Regions from separate parts of the Homo sapiens genome. Here region 2 is linked to region 1. The links are contacts of gene promoters, found by promoter capture Hi-C in human tissues and cell types (Jung and others, 2019). All regions are on one chromosome and are shown on one strand. Each heading gives the region's core, a stretch centred on a gene start or on the middle of the fragment in contact. The rest is flanking DNA. Distances are from core to core; before and after follow the strand shown. Region 1 has its middle 12 kb from the start of CARMIL3. Region 2 holds the start of ZFHX2 (zinc finger homeobox 2).

Region 1 (5,956 bases), core at 2,726-5,225:
ACCAGAAACTAGAAATCCAAGGGAATCTGGATTTCAAAATCATATCCCAAGGCCTCCAGCACTTTGAAAATGTACCAGACATTCTATTTGGGCACCGGAAAGTCTCCCGGAACCCCTCCCCCTTACCTAGATGGGACACCAGAGCCAAGTGTCGAGATTTTTGTTTAGGTCGGTACATCTGGGCCGACCTTCGCCAGCCTGTTTCTCACCCACCTCTCTTCTCAGTCCTGGTTCTCATTTCTACAGGACTTTGCTAGATGCCAACTCTTCACAAAACTAAAATACAAATGTAGGTAAAATGCTAATGGCTGACAAGTGCAAAATGTGTAACTCTTCCTCCCAAGGCAATATTTACATTTTTGACCGGAGACCATCTTTTCACATGCACCCCAAAAAATAATTAAGGATAGAATTTTCAGAATGATGTAGACTAGTAAGAAAGAAACCTGGAGGCAGGGCTGTTCTGAGTGAGACCCTCAAATCACGGAAGTGGCTGCTGCTGCAAACCCAGCTCATTTCTCACCTCTCAGTCCCAAGAGGGGATGAAGCCTGTCACCCATGGTGGGAACTGTAGAAAGTGATGTCAGTTCTTGGGAACTGAGGCTGCAGTCCAAGATGATAATAAAAATAAGTAAAGGAACGCCAAAAATGGCTGTGCCATTAAGCCTGTTTTACACGTAGTAGAGACACATGGAGGTCATATAGAGAAAGAGCCAGAATTCAAAACCGGGCAGTCTAACTTCAGAGCCCATGCTGTCCATCTCTTCCCCTGCACAAGCCTTAGCAGTCTTTGTCTCTGCTCACAGGATCGGCTTCGCCGTCGCCCAGCGTCTGGCCCAAGACGGGGCCCACGTGGTAGTCAGCCGCCGGAAGCAGCAGAATGTGGACCAGGCAGTGGCCACGCTGCAGGGGGAGGGGCTGAGCATGACGGGCACTGTGTGCCATGTGGGGAAGATGAAGGACTGGGAGCGGCTGGTGGCCACAGTGAGCTGCAGGGAAATGGGCACAGAGCCAGGAGGTGGAAAAGGGAGCCAGCCTGAGCCTCCTTCCCTGCTTTCCTGGACAGCATTGGTGAGATCCAACGCAGTGATGTTAACTAAAACATAACAGTGTGTTCTGCATACCCAACCAGCCCACCAGCACGTTTTTATTGTGTGCCTTTCTATTATGTCCATATATTAAAGTTGGAGAATAATCCCATCCCAATCAGAGAATGTTAAAACATTCTAATGCTTCAACCCTGCATCATCCCTTGCATACCCCAAAGAAACCGCTGGTACTGGTTCTCCAGTAATTTTCAACCTAACTGGACAGATGAGAAGGGTAAATACAATCACAAAATAGATGTTCCCACCCATGAGCTAATAAACATTCCCCTCTTCTTCAGCTTACAGAGTCAAGTCCCTGGGAACTTCAGGAAGCAGCCCACCATGTTTCAACCACTTACTATGTGCCATTTCCTGTGTTCAGAGCCTTACACAGGTTATCTCTAGACCTGACAACAACCCAAGCAAGGCAAGGACTATTCTCTCGGTCTGCAGACGCTGGCTCAGATAGCTGGAGCAACTTCCCAAGGTCCCACAGCCAGTAAGGAAAGACCCAGACCTCCCAAGCTCCCTTCCTTTATTGGCTGCCTGTGGACTACCAGGTACTGGACTTTAGTCTCAAAGAAAGTATATAAGTCAGTGTCACAGTTAGTAGTGGATACCAGCCTTCCAGCTGCCGAAGGAAATATGAACCATCCAGCAAAGCAAGCTCCTCTTCCCTTGAGGCTCAGGATACACACTTTATTTTCCAGAGTGGAAGGGAGAATCTACCCAAAAATGGAAAGTACAGGGTTGTGCTAACAGATTGGAAGGTTGGCAGAAATAATTTGCATAATCTTAGAAGAGGAGGATCTTAAGCAATAGTAGACAGTAGCATGGTAGACAGTATAGGGTAATTCCGTTTTTAAGGAACTGTCTGGCAAATGCTCAAATGTGCATTGGAAAGAGCCAAATGTGAGTCCTAGAAAGTCACCTTGCCTGGCCTAGGCTGGTGGACAGAGCCCAAGATTGGGGCCTTGATCCTGATGGTGGAAGGAGCCGTTTGGGAGTCTGGGTCAATTAGTGACTAACCATATCACATGTAAGTAGCAATGTAATGTGAAAACCCTGTTGGGAAAACATCCTGTGGCCCCCACCAGGTTCACTTAACATGGCCTACAGGCCTGGCCCAGAGGTGGTACTTGAGCTAAACCTTAAGGAATGGATGGGAATGGACAGATGGAATAGTGACGAGGTTCCAGATAACTCTGCAAAATGAGCAGACAGCCAAGGAGGAACTGAAGGAAAGAGAGGAGCACTGTCAGGCCACAATGGAGAGCACAGGCTCAGGAGTACTGCTGGGGAAGGGGCTGCATTGGAAAGATAGAGGCCATGGGCCTCCATATCTTTTTTTTTTTTTTTTTTTTTTTTTTTTTTTTTTTTTTGTGACGGAGTTTCACTCTTGTCGCCTAGGCTGGAGTACAGTGGCACCATCTCGGCTTACTGCAACCTCTGCCTCCCAGGTTCAAGCAATTCTCCTGCCTCAGCCTCCTGAGTAGCTGGGATTACAGGTGCCCACCACCATGCCCAGCTAATTTTTGTATTTTTAGTAGAGACGGGGTTTCACCATGTTGGCCAGGCTGGTCTTGAACTCCTGACCTCAGGTGATCCACCCACTCAGCCTCCCAAAGTGCTGGGATTACAGGCGTGAGCCACTGCGCCCGGCCATAGCTTCTTAAAAGGATACGTTAAGGACCTTAAAAGGATATAGCCTCTTAAAAGGATATGTTTACACACTCTTGTAGCAAATAAGAAGCCATGTGAGGTTTTGAGCAAGAGAAAGATGGTTATTAGGAAAGCTAATCTGGCTCTGGTAGGAAGGATATACAGAGGAGACACCAAATCCAGGGCATCAGTGAGGAAGCTGTTGCTGTCGTCCAGGTTTAGAGCAGTGGCGGTGGGACTGGAATAGATGTGCCCAAGAGACATTCAGTGGAAACGAACCAAGATTTTCCAACCCCATGTCAAAAAGTGGGAAATAGAGAAGTCAAAAATGACTCTCAGGTAGTTTGTATGACCATTGTCAGAGAGGAGAATGATAGAATACTTGTCAGCAATTTGAAATGTCTTCTGCCAGTTGTCACATGTTACCCTGCAATGAGAAAAGCCACTGCCCTGAGAATGGATACTACCCAGTGGCCTCCTCATCTGCACACCACGAAGCTTCTCACTGGTGTTGTAAGTGGAAACCAGAGTAGCTGCCTATCTGCTTGATTATATTTTTTCTTAAAAATGTATAACTATCAGAACACAGAACAAACAGCTCCTAACCACTTTAGTGTAGTGATCACACAATTTAGAACACTTAGAAGACATCTTTTTCTTTTCCCCCCAGAGACAGGGCCTCACTCTGTTGCCCAGGCTGGAGTGCAGTGGCATGATCATAGCTCACTGTAACCTCCAACTCTTGAGCTCAAGCAGTCCTCCCCCGTCAGCCTCCCAAGTGGCTAAGATTATAGGCATGCACCACCACGCCAGTTCATCTTTTAAATTTGTTGTAGAGTTGGGGCTTTATTGCCCAGGCTGGTTTTGAACTCCTGGCCTCAAGCGGTCCTCCCTACTGGCCGTACCAAAGTGCTAGGATTATAGGTGTGAGCCACCACACCCAGCCTCATTCATCTTTTATGGTTTGCTGTCTCTGTTCATTCAAAACCCAGCCTCCTCCCATCTCTGTGCTGACAGACCTGGAAGTAGAGGGGCATGGGGTATGCAGCAGAGTAGAAAATGTCTCCAGGTGATTCTGGAGCAATCCACTGTCTTCTCCCAGCCCAAACACACGTGCACTGAGCACAGCACACATCACTTATTAACTTATTCTGCACCTCCCTAGTAACAAGTACATTGGTGAGACTTACACAGAGCCAAGGCAGGTGACTTGGCTTTGTGCCAGGATACCAAAATTTAAAGGGTGCAAGAAAGTATTCATACTGGTTTTAAAAGAGTACTTGACTTTAAATTTTGTTAGATTTACACGTTGACAGCCCAGGCATTTCTTCAACTGTGTTGAAGGTTAGCACCTAGTTAACAAGAATAATTAGTTAAAATGGGAAGCTAGCAGATGGTGTACATTGTTAATAACACCCCTCCGTGGGCCAAATCCGGAGCACAAAATTGACCAAGGGCCCATGTACTGCTACTTGCCCAAGGCATCAAAATTGCCAGTTCCAGGCAAATGCAAAGTCTGGTTTCAGGGTGGCTTTGTACTGAAAACCCTTGTTGGCAGATTCTGCTTGGCCATTCATTACTCTAGCACATGCCTCACTACCTACTTATAACTTATTAAGGAGGTGAGATGTTGCCTTTCTTGGCTTTCTCAGTTTAAATTTCCCTTTCTGCCTTGAATCTTTCATGCCTCCAGGTCAAAAGAGAGAGACAGAGACAGGGAAAATGACATCATAACCAAATATGGAATTGCTTTAAATTCAGGCTGGTATCTTCTCCCATCATGGCTCTCCTGGGCAGCCGGTTTCCTAATGACCCCAGCTCACTTTCAGAGGGCTCTTACGAATTAGCTCTGTGCTACAAAGTGGGAGACTGACCTCAGTTCTTCCACCACTAACTAGCTTTATGCCCTGAACAAATCACTTTCCCCAACACGGAATAAGCAGGCCTCCTGTTCTTAGCTAGCCCCAGTGTGTTACTACTGAACTATATGATCTTGAGAAAATTCCCTGAACCTGTTTCATCATCTCCACCTTAAGGACATTGGAATAGATGATCTCAAAGGCCCCTCCAGGGTAACTTTCTACAGCTCTATTTAAGCCAGTTTTTCCATTCAGGTAAGTGTGGCCAGATTGACTTTGAAATAATGGTAACTTATTCAAGAAGAACTGGACAGTAAGCACTTGGAGAAATGTGGGTGGAACTCAGTGTGAAAGGAAGAGGAGGGGTCTGGAAATAGATTTTGGGGTGAGATTTGAAATCACGAGAATGAAGGAGCTCCCAAATGGGAAAATGTAAAGAAAAGAGCATAGGGTCAGAGACAGCCTTAGAAGAATAGGAGGTGGGAAGAAAACACTGCAAAAGAAATAAGGCCAACTTCCTGGTGGCTCACACCTGTAACACTTTGAGAGGCCGAGGCAGGCGGATGGCTTTAGCTCAGGAGTTCCAGACCAGCCTGGGCAACATGGCAAGACCCTGTCTCTACAAAAAGTACAAAAATTGCCCAGGTGTGATGGCACGCACCTGTATTCTCAGCTACTTGGGGGGCTGAGGCAGGAGGATGGCTTGAACCCAGTAGGTCAAGGCTGCAGTGAGCTGGGATCATGCCACTGAACTCCAGCCTGGGTGACAGAGGAAGACTCCATCTAAAAAAAGAAAGAAGCCAACCTTAAATGGTTAGCAGCAGATCTTAGGGTAGTTTTCAAAAAAGATGTTTTAAGAAATAGAAGTTATTTTGACGATAGTTCCTAAGAAGGAAGATTTGTTGTTGTTGTTGTTGTCATTGTTGTTGTTTTTTTAAATATAGGGATAAGGTCTCCCTATGTTGCCCAGGCTTCTCTCAAACTGCTCAGTTCAAGTGGTCCTCCCACCGTGACCTCCCAAAGTGCCATGATTCCCGGCGTGAGCCACCACGCCCCGCCCAGAAGGAAGTTTTTATCAACGTGAATAAATGCACCTCCCTTACTTACTGCAGCCCTGGTCCAGACCTTACCCCTCTCCCTAGGCTATGAAGCTTCATGGAGTTATTGATATCCTATCACTATCGATAACAAACTCCGTCTGCTTTTAGAATGTGTTTATCAAGTGCAGTGTAAATGTGAGGAGTCTTTGCCACATGCCACACACCTGGAGCACACCTGGTAAAGGGCGGGTGGGGGCAGCTTCCTCTGTCCCTGCCCTTCTCATTCGTTTCTGCTGCTCCTACTTCT
Region 2 (7,569 bases), core at 754-3,253, 490 kb before region 1:
CCCTGGAAGCTCATTAAATTTATTTCTTGGCCTGTTTATGTGCCTTCACAAACCATACCCCACACCTCTCCCAGCCCTTTGCTTGCTGGTACTTTCTGCTGCTGGGGTTAAAATGCTGGATAAGAGGAAAAGGGATAAAAGAAACTAGAAACTTAGGGTGATCAAGAAGAAAAGGTAGGAAGAGGGCAGATTATGGGAACAAAGGTGGAAACTCAGAGCTCATGGGAAACAGATGGAAAAAAGGGGTGAAGCAAAATGGGGAAATAAAAAATATACAATGATACAGTGGGGGAAGGGAGTAAAATTAAGTCAGCAGGGAAGAGGTTTTGTTGTGCGAAGCTCCTGGAAAGGCAGATGACACGCATGAGACCAGAAGGTGAGGTTCTGATGAGGGAGACAGGCACATGGCAAAGGGGACAGTCAACAATGCTAGGAAGTTCCAAAGCTTCTCTGGTGATGGTGGAAGAGGAGGCTGTCCTGGCCATGCTGAAGGCACTAGAGGCTTTGGCGAAGACACATTTGCTCCATCATCCCACTCCTCCAGGCCCTGACTGTGACCACCACAATCATGACTGATAAGCAAATTCCAAAGTAGCCTGAAAAGGCCAGAGATATCCAGACAGACTCTGAAGGAGAGGGCATGGAATCCTAGACCGACAGAACAGGCAGCCAAGGCGTGACACATAGTGATAGAGACACACAAGGAGAGGATCACTCAGATGGGAAGGGTCACAAGTGGAGACAGTGACATACAGATCCAGAGATGGATGGGATGGAAGAGACAAGATGAAGAACAGCAAAACCAAAAGTCAGGGACACATGGACAGAGATCAGCGGGGCTACAGGCACAGCGAGGAAGCGTGGTCCTGTGCTTGAAAATGATAGGGCTGCTCAGAGGGGCAGACGAGCGGATGGGGGTGGTAGGATGGGCGTGCAGGACAGACACGCTTCACCTTGAATGGGCTTATGGCCTCCCCTCACCTACTCAACACTTTCAAAAAAAGGAATGGAAAGCCCAACTTCAGCCAAAAACGAACGAAGACTGAGAGTATCCACGTCCCCTCCCACTCCACGCCCCAGCGCGCTAGCCCATCCATCAGCCCGCCGGCCGCGGTTCTCCCATCCCACAGCCGGCGGGGGGCCGCCGAGACCCAGGACCCTCCAGGCTGACAGCTCTGAGCCCTCACACTCACCGGGCCTCCCCTTCCCCCCGGGATCCCCGCTCCCTGCCCAACTCGGCGCGGTCCGTCTAGGCTTTCCATACCCTTCGTCTGTCCGGCGGGCCTCTGCCTTTCCCGTTCCCGTTTCTCCCTCCACCCCCGCATCTCTCTTCCCCCATCCTCGCGCACGCCCTCTTCCTCCCACACCCCTGTCTGCTATCTCCCAGGGCTCTCGGTCTGTCTGTCCGTCCGTCCTTGTCCCCTCCCCCAGCCCCTTCCCGTCCCTCTCCGTCCCCTCCAGCGGCAGTCTCCAAGCGCCTCCTCTCCCGTCTCGAGCTTCCAAAGAGCAAGGAAGGGAAGAAGAGAGAGAGGGAGAGGAGAAAAAAACCAACCCAGCAGCATCGGAAATCGATGCACTTACACCTCAGCTGGAAGCAGGGACGGGAGTCGAACCGCGGCCACCGAGCAGCGCGAGGCGGGGAGGGGAGGGGGCGGCTCTTGGAAGGGACTTCTCCGATGTGTTGATTCCTCTTTTTTCCCCTCCTCCTCCCTCCCTCCAGCGCTCGCTCCGGGGCGTCAGGGACGGAGACGGAAAAAAATAAATAAATAAATTCACGGCGGTGAGGGAAGTGAAGGAAAATAATCAATGCTATTTGGCTGCGGCTGAAGTGTTTCCCCGGCTTCGTGAGGGGGTTTCCATTGATTCACCCTGGGCACTCGCTCGCTCCCTGCCTCCTCCTCCTCCTCCTCCTTCTCCTCCTCGCCCTCCTCCTCCTCCTCCTCCTCGCCCTCACTCCTCCGCCTCATTCACTGGCTGGAGTCTAGGCGTCCCACACAATGGAATAATCAATACCCAGGCGCCCGGGGCTGCCCCACTGAGCAGGTGCAGCGACCCGCCCGCCGCGGCGCATGCCGGGAGTTGTAGTCTGTTCGCGCCCGCCCGCCTGCCTCGCGGGACCCAGGGCCGGGGGCAGGCCGGCCAGCCCACCAGGTCGCCTCCAGGTTCAAGCCGGTGCCTGCAAAGAGGGCAGGCCCCTTTAAACTCTTTTCCGTCTCCTCTCCTCTTCATCCTGTGGCCTGCAGAAACCATACATGTGTTTTGTTGTTTTGTTTTAAATCAGCTTCAGAACAAGCCCTGAGCCGCCCAAGGCCTCCTTTTTTCATTCTCTTCTTCCTGCCTTATTATTCCGCCTCCCCCATCTCCCCCCGCGAAATTGGGTACTAGAACCTTCTCTACCGCAGCAATTACTCTTTAGTCTCTGAGAGCTTCTGCCTCCTCCACACGGTTACATAGTCCCCTGAGCTGGGTTGGGGGAGGTTCGGGCTCCTCCTCATCTTCAGTTTATCGCTTATTAAGTGCTCCTGAATTTTTTTTTTTTTTTTTTTTCTGGAGACGGAGTCTCACTCAGTCGCCCAGGTTGGAGTGCAGTGGTGCGATCTCGGCTCACTGCAACCTCCACCACCGGGTTCAAGCGATTCTCCTACCTCAGCCTCCTAAGTAGCTGGGATTACAGGCATGCATCAACACACCCAGCTAATTTTTGTATTTTTAGTAGAGACGGGGTTTCACCACGTTGGTCAAGCTGGTCTCGAACTCCTGACCTTGTGATCCGCCTGCCTCGGCCTCCCAAAGTGCTGGGATTACAGGTGTGAACCACCACCGCGCCCAGCCCGTTTTTTTGTTTGTTTGTTTTTTTCTTGAGACAGAGTCACTCTGTCGCCCAGGCTGCAGTGCAGTGGCATGATCCCGGCTCACTGCAACCTTCACCTCCCAGGTTCAAGTGATTCTCCTGCCTCAGCCTCCCAAGTAGCTGGGATTGTAGGTGCCCACCACCATGCCCTGCTAATTTTGTATTTTTAGTAGAGACGGGGGTTTCACCATCTTAGCCAGGCTGGTCTCGAACTCCTGACCTCAGGTGATCCACCGGCCTCAGCCTCCCAAAGTCCTGGGATTATAGGGGTGATCCACCTCACCCGGCCGCTCCTGTATTCTAATAATAATTTTTAAGATTTCTTGAATGCACAGGGACAGTTCCAAGCACTTTTACATACATTGTTTACTCCTCTCAATACCTCAAGCATGAGGTAGATGCTATTATAGTCTCATTTATTGAGGAAACTAAGGCACAAACAAGTGAATTAACAGGCCCAAGGTCCAATGGCCAATAAGTAAGTGACAGTGCCAGGACTCAAAAACCTCCATGGTCTGGCTCCAGGGCCCATACTAACTGCTATAGCCTACTTCTCTTAAACAACACAACAAAACCCTGAAGTTCACATGACAAAAAGGAGAGATAAATGAACATTTTGAGTTTATACTATGTGACAGTTTATGACTGAATCCTCACAGGTAACTGTGAGGCAGGCCACATTTTCTCAATGAAAAAGCAGAGGCTGGCCGGGCATGGTGGCTCACTCCTGTAATCCCAGCACTTTGGGAGGCTGAGGTGGGTAGATCACCTGAGGTCAGGAGTTCGAGACCAGCCTGACCAACATGGTGAAACCCTGTCTCTACTAAAAATACAAAATTAGCTGGGCGTGGTGGTGGGCACCTGTAATCCCAGCTACTCGGGAGGCTGAGGCAGAAGAATCGCTTGAACCCGGGGGGCAGAGGTTGCGGTGAGCCAAGATCACACCATTGCACTCCAGCCTGGGCAACAAGAGTGAAACTCCGTCTCAAAACCAAAAACAGGCCGGGCGTGGTGGCTCACACCTGTAATCCCAGCACTTTGGGAGGTGGAGGCGGGTGGATCACAAGATCAGGAGATCGAGACCATCCTGACTAACAGGGTAAAACCCCATCTCTACTAAAATTACAAAAAATTAGCCGGGCATGGTGGTGGGCACCTGTAGTCCCATCTACTTGGGAGGCTGAGGCAGGAGAATGGCATGAACCCTGGAGGCGGAGCTTGCAGTGAGCCGAGATGGCGCCACTACACTCCAGCCTGGGCGACAAAGCGAGACTCCGTCTCAAACAAACAAACAAACAAAAATTAGGAGGGTGGGGTGGCACGTGCCTGTAGTCCCAACTACTCAGGAGGCTGAGGCGGGAGAATCATTTGAACCCAGGAGGCAGAGGTTGCAGTGAGCTGAGACGCCAGAGTGAGACTCTGTCTCAAAAAAAAAAAAAAAAAAAAAAAAAAAGCAGATGCTTAGGAAAGTGGAGTAGCTTGCGGAAGGCCAAACATCTAGAAAGTGAAGCTGGGAGTCGACCTCAGGTCTGGCTCCGGAAACTGGTCTTTCTGTTCAAATAAGCTGCTGCTTTTGCCCCACTGGATTGGATCTTATAACATAAGGAAAAATTAGGTCTTCATCCCAGGTTAACAAAACCGGAAAGCAAAAGATGGATGAAAAGCAGGCTTTAGGAGCTGGGGTTTCTTCTCTCCCTAACCAACAGTGCTTAACATGGAGTGGGGACAGAGGTTGACCCAAGCTACTCCAAGTTCAAGATGCCATTTGTTTATTTATTTATGCACAGGGTCTTGCTCTGTTGCCGAGGCTGGAGTGCAGGCAGTAGCAGGATCGTAGCTCACTGCCCTTGACCTCCTGGGCTCAAGCTATCCCGCTGCCTCAACCTCCTGAGCAGCTGGGACCACAGGCATGCACTACCACACCCGGCTAATTAAAATTTTTTTTTTTTTTTTTTTGTAGAAACAGGGTCTTCCTATGTTGCCCAGGCTGGTCTCAAACTCCTGGCCTCAAATGATCCTCCTGCCTCGACCTCCCAAAGTGCTAGGATTACAAGTGTGAGTCAACACACCTGGCCAAAATGCCATGTCTTTAAACCAGTGTCCTTCTCCCTATAATACCTCTCACTGGTCATGTATTTCCAGAAACATACTGGTGAGAGGGCAGGTGTTGAGAACATGGCACTTCTCACCCATCATAGGAAGGAGTCCAGGAGTTAAGAGCCACGGTTCCTCAGGGAGCTTCCTCACATGGAAGGTCAGACATATAGTTAGAGTCTCCAGATAACCATAGTCCTCAGAGGGAGTAAGAAGGAATCATCTCTATTAATATTTTGTCTCCCAAAGCATTCAAAGGGCCAACCCCCATGTTTTCCTGAATTTTATTTTTTTGGGGACAGATGGAGTCTCGTTCTGTCGCCCAGGCTGGAGTGCAGTGGCGCCATCTCAGCTCACTGCAACCTCTGCCTCCCAGGTTCAAGCAATTCTCATGCCTCAGCCTCTGGAGTAGCTGGGAACACAAGCACGCGCCACCATGCCCGGCTCATTTTTGCATTTTTAGTAGAGACGGCGGGCCGGGGGGGTTTCTCCATGTTGGCCAGGCTGGTCTCGAACTCCTGACCTCAGGTGATTCACCTGCCTCGGCTTCCCAAAGTGCTGGGATTGCAGGTGTGAGCAACCGCACCGGCCTTTCTGTATTCTAAATGAACATAAGTAGTTCTACACCTGACAAAAACTGCTTAGGGACCGCTGGAAACTCTGACAAACTCCTCAGTCTAGCACTCAAGGCTTTTCCCTCAACTGCATTTCTAGCCTCGTCTTCTCCTTACGTACCACCCAGGTGCTCTCCAGTTTCTGGGCCTTTGCTTAGGCTATTCCTGTCTCCATCTAGGTCTCCAACTGTTGAAATACCATCATATCTTTAGTTCCTGGCCAAAATACCACTTTATTCTCTGACAGAAAGTTTCTCACCCACTCTTACCCTCAACGTTCATGCCAGGAGGTATTAGATCCCCTCTAAAACTCCAGAGTAGCTAAACTGGACTTTATTACGCGCTGCCCCCGCCCCCTTCCCTCCCCCCACCCCAACCCCCCTCGCCACCATTGCCACTGGCCTGCGCTTAGCTGGCTGCTATAGCAGATATCTGTTGGACGGTGTGAATGGCTTGTATTCCAGGCCCATCTGCCTGCGTTGGGGGTGCGGCGGGGGGTGTTGGAGACGGGACTGGGGCTTGAGCTCCTTGCACCCGACTCTCCCCGCCGCCTTGTAGCCCCAGTTCAGCTTTAGGTAGAGTACCGCAGGCACCAAGTGCAGCTTTCCTGTCGCCATAGCGACGGGCGGGGCGAGATGGCAAAGTCTCCCTTTGGAACTACATCTCCCATCATGCATCCGCGCCTCGGGGTGCCTGGCTCAGCCTCAGGCATGAGACCTGTACCAGCCCCCGGGAGCCGTGCGGGGCCAACAATGAGGAGCAGAATGCAAGGGGCGGCCTCGCTCCCCTGGCCACCGCGGGGGTCGCGGCCTCCCATTACATAGCGCGTGTCTCGAGCCCTGGCCTGCTCTCGGCACCGCCACAACGGGCGTAATATGGCCGCTGGTGCCGGGACCTGCCGGGCGCGCGGAGGGTCGGGCCGAGGTCCGGGATCCGGAACTGCTCCCGGCATTCCTCGCGAGTGTATGGCGTGGGCTCCCTTCCCCCTCTGTGGGTCCCGCGAGGAGACTCTCGGGCTTTGAGGTGAGACCTGAAGTTCCGCTGGCCGGTAGTGTAGCAGGAAAGGGCAGGTCCTCCCGGGTCGTGAGCCAGTAGCCTCCTGGGGTGGCAAGGTGTAGAGAGGGGGGCGTTGAAAGGACACCCGCTACCCGGCCTGCTTTCTAGGGGTCTCTTTGGATTGAGGACATCAGCAGCAGTGGAAGGGATTTTACTGGAGACCTGTCACTGTCAGAGCCTTAAAATATCACCGACGGGGCCTTAATGTCACCGAGGTAGAGAGAAAAGGGCAGTAGCCCTAGAGACTATTGCGACACAGTGTGCCCCTCATAAGTTTTTCCAGGGAGGGGTTCTGTACTGAGTTGACGCCCCAGGAGCTGAGCACCAGGCTTTGCATCCTTGGGAACTCAGCAAACGTTTGTTCAGCCAATTGCAGGTAGCATGGCCCAGGGCTTGATTGAGGTGGAGCGAAAGTTCCTTCCAGGGCCTGGCACAGAGGAGCGGCTGCAGGAGTTGGGGGGCACCCTGGAGTACCGGGTCACCTTCCGAGACACCTACTATGACACCCCTGAGCTGAGCCTCATGCAGGCTGACCACTGGCTGCGACGACGAGAGGATAGTGGATGGGAGCTCAAATGTCCTGGAGCAGCAGGTGTCTTAGGACCCCACACGGAGTATAAGGAACTCACAGCGGAACCTACAATTGTGGCCCAACTCTGTAAGGTGCTGCGGGCTGACGGCCTGGGGGCTGGAGATGTGGCTGCTGTGCTGGGCCCACTGGGGCTGCAGGAAGTAGCTAGTTTTGTGACTAAGCGGAGTGCCTGGAAGCTGGTGCTCTTGGGAGCTGATGAAGAGGAGCCACAGCTCAGGGTGGACTTGGATACAGCCGACTTTGGCTACGCTGTGGGTGAGGTAGAGGCCCTGGTGCATGAGGAGGCTGAAGTACCAACTGCCCTAGAGAAGATCCACAGGCTCAGCAGCATGCTTGGTGAGGGAGACAGGCCCTTTTGTGCT

The links. Contacts are between HindIII fragments. The study calls those that stand out against the background at their distance.
Region 2: the fragment with the promoter of ZFHX2 here is called in contact with a fragment that was not itself captured in region 1 in 2 of the 25 tissues and cell types used here (bladder and dorsolateral prefrontal cortex).

What each region holds. Positions count from the first base shown.
Region 1 is chr14:24,036,937-24,042,892 of GRCh38, forward strand. It overlaps the pseudogene DHRS4L1. Among named protein-coding and RNA genes, the nearest start is that of CARMIL3, 12 kb to the right of the region's middle. The HindIII fragment of the contact is 6,357 bases long and covers 798-5,956 here.
Region 2 is chr14:23,549,762-23,557,330 of GRCh38, forward strand. It overlaps ZFHX2 (zinc finger homeobox 2), which reads right to left and starts at 2,004. Exons shown (of 10, transcript NM_033400.3): 1 at 1,582-2,004. THTPA (thiamine triphosphatase) reads left to right here and starts at 6,510. Exons shown (of 2, transcript NM_024328.6): 1 at 6,510-7,543. The coding sequence starts at 6,997. RefSeq lists enhancers at 796-1,458, 2,308-2,357, 5,890-6,824, 6,383-6,642, 7,503-7,552 and a silencer at 1,938-2,177. The HindIII fragment of the contact is 20,255 bases long and covers 1-7,569 here.